Linked DNA regions of Homo sapiens: region 2 is linked to region 1. Evidence: promoter capture Hi-C in 16 types of primary human blood cells and fetal thymus (Javierre and others, 2016). All regions are on one chromosome and are shown on one strand. Each heading gives the region's core, a stretch centred on a gene start or on the middle of the fragment in contact. The rest is flanking DNA. Distances are from core to core; before and after follow the strand shown.

What was found. The method cuts DNA at HindIII sites, captures the fragments that hold promoters and counts their contacts. A CHiCAGO score of 5 or more calls a contact.
Region 2: a contact is called between a fragment that was not itself captured here and the fragment with the promoter of USP32 in region 1, in 1 of 17 cell types (fetal thymus). The highest score is 5.7, in fetal thymus.

The regions. Positions count from the first base shown.
Region 1 is chr17:60,390,825-60,393,524 of GRCh38, forward strand. USP32 (ubiquitin specific peptidase 32) reads right to left here and starts at 1,309. Exons shown (of 34, transcript NM_032582.4): 1 at 1,058-1,309. The coding sequence starts at 1,115. RefSeq lists an enhancer at 1,024-1,865 and silencers at 1,040-1,099, 1,130-1,349, 1,460-1,779. The HindIII fragment of the contact is 3,969 bases long and covers 1-2,699 here.
Region 2 is chr17:62,064,847-62,067,546 of GRCh38, forward strand. MED13 (mediator complex subunit 13) reads right to left here and starts at 432. Exons shown (of 30, transcript NM_005121.3): 1 at 294-432. The coding sequence starts at 359. RefSeq lists silencers at 73-352, 1,143-1,222 and an enhancer at 833-1,092. The HindIII fragment of the contact is 415 bases long and covers 1,208-1,622 here.

The DNA of each region.
Region 1 (2,700 bases), core at 59-2,558:
TTCTTAATGTTTTTTCACTTCTTACCAAGAATATCCATTAAATGTCTAAAAGAAATACAAGCATACACAGATCTACACACACTGAAATCCCAGTCATGAAAAATTAAGACATTCCGGCCATAAACTGTGCAACAAGACACTTCCAGTTAGTGTGTGCTTTAGTGATCATGGACAGCGGTATCAGAGTGAGTGGTAGGGGGTTGGGGCTGCCAACAATATACTGTGCCTCAGAGCCAATAAGCAGCAGGCCGGGACTGGCAGCCAGGCCAGTCTCTAAAGGGAGATTTAACACAATATCTGAATGCTGGACTTCCCAATGCCATTTCATGGAGAGGGATGGAGCGAGAACTGGGCATCAAGTGCAGTCAAAGGCTTTGGTCAACGTCGGAGGAGATGAAACCTAAGACAAGGTCTGGTGCCAACGCCAGCTGTCCAGTCTCATCTCACCTCAAACACAACTTCATTTCAGATCGTTCTTATCAAAGTCAGCCGCTCAAACGGTGAAGGGTGGCAGAAGCGGATGGCCACAGCCCTCAAGAGACAGGCATAGGCTCTGGGAAAAGGCAGGGACTCCCCAGATACGAAGGGGCTTCCAGTAGCAGAGAGGAGCGCTTTGCAGCCGCCTCCTCGTCCCCTTCCAGCTAAGGCTGTTAGGAACGAGGTTAGGATGTTATTTGAGGTTTTTATGAAGGAATGATAGGAGAAAATGGCAATGAAGGATGAGGGGGGCTGGATGGGCTGGAGCCGCCCAAGAAAACGGGGAGAGGACTTCCCTGGACACATCCAGGATCACAACGCCACCAGCGAGCACGGGCACTGCCCTGCCAGCGCCGATCCCCCTCTCTCAGGACAAGCCCCTTTCCAAACGGCCCTAATTCCCAAACGCTGCTTCCCACCCGACCTCTCTCCTCCACCACACTCCCCAAGGCCGGCCGCCTTTCCCTTCCGCCTCAGGCGCCCCACGCCCTCAATCTCCCCTCTCCCTCCCGGTTACCCACCCTCCAGGCTGCCCGTCGCGGGCCTCCCAGGCAGCTCGCCCAGACCCCTCCCCCCTCACCTCTCCTCAGCGCCTCCTCGTAGCTGAGGAATCCGATCCGTGACTCCTTGGCACCCATGCTCCCCTCATCCCCTCGGCGGGGGGTCGGAGCCTGATCTCGCCCCCACCCCCCTCCCGCCTTCTCCTCGGCGTCCCTGGGTGACGGTGACGGTGTCGGCGTCCCCCGCCCCCACCTCCCCCCACACTAACAAGTGCGGCTTCTGCCCCGGCGGCTCCTCCCGGTCGCCGCCACCGCCTCCATGCCGGATCACGTGACTCTTCCGCCCCGCCCCCTTCCCCTGCCTCCTACTCCGCCCTTCTCTCTCCTCTCTCTCCTCCCTCTCCTTCCCTCCTCACGCCCTCTTGCCACTTCCGCCCCCTCCCGCCAGCTCCGCCGAGGGTCACGGGACCCGAGGCCAGACACTGTTCCCGGTAACGGCCGCCCAGGGCCGCACGCTCCGCCCCTCCCCAAGCTAACCGCGCGCAGGAGCGCCGGGGAGGGGGACGCATCTCCGCACGTAACGCATCGTCCCATCTTCCCGCCAATCGCAGCCGCGCGCCCCGCCCGGGCGCCTCCGCTGGCGACGGGGGGTGGTGACTTCCGGGGCGCTTGAGGACGACCCCCCCCGCCCCCGCGCCCACATGTTCTGGCGTTCGGCGGGTGGGGTCCGAGCAGCTGACGGTTAGTGTGGCAGTTGCCGGGACCTAACATGGAAGACCGCAGAATCTTAGGGAATGGGGTTCTGAGGGATGCGGCATATGGCTCAGAAGAGAAAGGAGTGGGTAGGCAGGGAGCTCCCAACCTTAGGGACGTCTTTGACTGGGAGGGCGTTGTGAAAGGAAAGGAGAATCTCAAGGCTTTCCTGTGACAAAAGAATGCTCACACCTAGCGGGAGATCCCTGAGGAAAGTGGACCTTGTTAACGAAGTGGATCTGCCTTTTCGGGTCATCTCGCCTGCCCGGCCCACCTTCTCCTCCTGACCATGCCTCTTGTACACATTCTCTGGAAAGCGCTGTGCAAAAGGCTTATCCTCTCTCCCAGAGTTTCTCCCCGAGAAACATGAGGGCTACAAGGCTTAGCGTGGAGTCGTTTTAATCTGTGGTAAAATATACGTAACAAAATGTACCATTTTCACAATTTCTAAGTGAGTTCAGTGGCGTTAAGAACATTGATATTGTTTTGCATCCATTGCCACGTCCCATTTCCCACCGTTTTTCATCTTGCAAAAGGGAAACTCTGTGCCTATTAAACGGTAACTCCCCAATCCCCCTCCCACTGGTCCGTGGCAACCGCTGTCCTACTATCAATTTCACTACTCTTAAGTATTTCCTCTGAGTGGAACTCTGCAGACTTTCTCTTTTGTGACTGGCTTATTTCACTTGGCATCGTGCCTTCCAGGTTCATGGTGTGGCAGCATGTGACTGACTCTCCCACTCCACCTCTCCATTTCCCAAAGAATGAAAAGCAGGGATGTGAACAGGTATTTGTGCCCCCGTGTTTATAGCAGCATTATTCACGAGAGCCAAAAGGTGAACACAACCTATAGGAAACCATAAATGGAGAAACCAAATGGGGTGTATATGTACAGTGGAATTATTATTTAGTTCCTTGATTTTCAACTCTTATTTAGTTTGCGTCTTCAACCTAAAAGTCACGGAATAAA
Region 2 (2,700 bases), core at 165-2,664, 1.7 Mb after region 1:
AAGGTTACTGTCCTGCCAGATAAGGAGCTCAAGTTGAGGACGAGACTACGGTGAGAAGGAGAGTCCGAAACAAGACGAGAAAAAATGCCAACACTCCCCTAAACAGAGCCCGGGACCGTAGGAGAGCGAACGCCGCCTCCCGGGGCTGGCCGCGGAGCTTCGCAGGGCGCCGGCTCCGGCTGGGCCTCGCCCGGGAACTCGGGCATCTGGACCAGACCCGGCCCCCTCCCCCACGGCCCAAGGGCGCACCTCGCGGCCCCCCTCCCTCGGCGCCCGCCGGCCCCGGCACTCACCAGGCAGAAGAGGTTACAGTGACAATCTTCCAGGCTGGCCCCGTTCGGCACGAAGGAGGCACTCATCGTCCCTCACAGCAGCCGCCGCCGGCGCCACAACCCACCATCCGCCATTACCGCCGCCTCCGACCAGAGAGAGAAACACAGACACCGGGGAGGGCCGGGGGGGGGGTAGTGGTTGGGGGGGCGGTGGAAGAGGAGGCCGCCGGGCGCCCGCCCTCCCCACCCACCCCCCCGCCGCCGCCGCCGCCGCCGCCGCCGCGAGCAGCCCCCGCCGCCCGGCCGGCACCCAGCCGCCCGGGGCCGAGGGCCGGAGGCGGGAGGGCCGCGCCGCGCTCGCCTGGCGGGCCGGACTGCGGATCCCGCAGACGCTCGTCCCTCTCTGGGGGACGGAGGGGATGTGTGCCCCTACCACAAGAAAAATAATAAATTACACAATAAATAATCAAAATCAAGTCCGAGACGGCAGAGCCCAAGCCCAGGACGGTTCTCCCGGGCGGAGAGGCGCCCGCACAGGAGCGGGAAGGGCGAGAACCGGGAGAGAAGCCCAGGCCCCCGGCGCGGCAGCGGCGATGTCCTTAAGCCCAGAGTCTCCTCAGCGGCGGAGGTGGTGGCGGCGTCTGCGGGCTCAGACCATTCTCTGGCTCTGTCTTCGTGTCGTTCCTGGGCCAAGCCGGCCTAAAGTTTGCCCTCCTGTGGCCTCACCGGCTGGACGCCGTAGTCTCCCCCATTTTGTGGGCCCAGCGGGCGGTGTTTTTCCCCCTTTAATCCGAATTCACGGGTTTTCCCTTCGCTTTAATGGCGGCCACAGGGACCAGCTCGCCCTCTCTGCTCACCCATTGGCCGCCTTGAGGTCACGTGGGCCCGGGCTCGGTTGGGAGGGGGAGAGAGAAGTGAGCGAGGGAGGGCCGGGAAGCTTTCGGCGGAGGCGGTGAGCTCGGGGGACGGGGCAGCCAGCTGGTGGCCACTAACATAGCGCCATCTGCTGGGTGCCCCGGCCAGTATAAAACGACCCGGGGCCCTGGCCCTCTCTTTGCGGGGAAATTTACAGTCCAGGAAGGTTCATTTCACAAATCAGTGAGAATTACGTGGAAATCAGTTTGAGTTCTTTGGAAGAGAAAGTATTGGCAAAAATTCCAAGACATTCTCATTTATTTCGCGAGGCCGCTGGGGTGCAGGTGCAAACCTCTGGATTTGGGAGTCAGATGATCTGGATGGGGATAAGACTCCTCAACCTAAAAGTTGTGATATGAAGATATAAATTTAAGAAACAAAATATTGCCCTGTAGTTAATAGACTGGGAATTAGAGCCACACTGCCTGGGTTCCAAGCTTGAGCAAATCACTTCCTGCTCTGTGTCTTTACTCATCTGTAAAATGGGGAAAACATATCCCTTACCCCACAAGCTTATTGTAATGAGTTAATACAAATTAAGCAGGTAGCCCAGTGCCCCGCACAGATAAGCACTGTTAAGAGTTAACTATTATTGTTGTCATCATTACCTCATATAGTTATTGTGACGAGCAGGAGAACTAGTGTATGTAAAGGTCTCACTATTTTTTTGTTGTTTACTTCTGTCTCTCTAGTGCCTAAAAAAAGGTTCCTAGCACACAGTAGGTGCTTGATATTTGTATAGTTACAAATGAATGGGTGGTAAGAAGTAAGAACCAAACAAAAGGTTTATTCTCTTTCCCATAAAACACCCAGTGCTTGGATGGGTTACACTTCAATATGAGTTCAAAACAGTTTCTCTGACGGTTTTAGGATTGCAAGAAAGAAAGAAGAAGAAAAAGATGATTCAGAAGTTAGAAACATCAGTGAGTTAGGACTTACTGTAATTTTATGTATTACAGATACATAATTATGTATTATGTATTACAGATACATAATTGTATCTGTAAAATGAATGGTAGACTCTTCCATGTCACTTCTTCAGCCACGGAATGAAAAGAAGTCCTCATTTATCCACTTGTTCATCTGTGGTGGTGAAGAGCCCAGATCTGAAGCCCAAAGCCTGGAGAAAAAGTTCTGCCCCTCACTAGTTAGTCTTAGATCATATTTGACCTTAGATCAAATTAATTTTGCTTTCTCTCGGTTATTGTAAAATGGGGGTAATAAAAGTACTTTTCTTCTAAAATGACTGGTGAATGAAACAATGTAGATACAGTGCTTGCCACAGTGCTTACTTAATGTTAATTATTAATGTAATTTTAAAAATCATTGAGAACCTGCTGGCTCAATTGAGTGTGTTCCTGCTCTGTGCTAGGCCTAGGATACAAATAGGAATAAGATACCTGCCTGTCCCTCAAGATTCCTGAAGAGAGGCACTAAAGGAAACATTTCCTACAGAATAAGGTAAAATACAATGGGGGTAATTGCTTGAATAAAGTATGTACCTACTATGGCA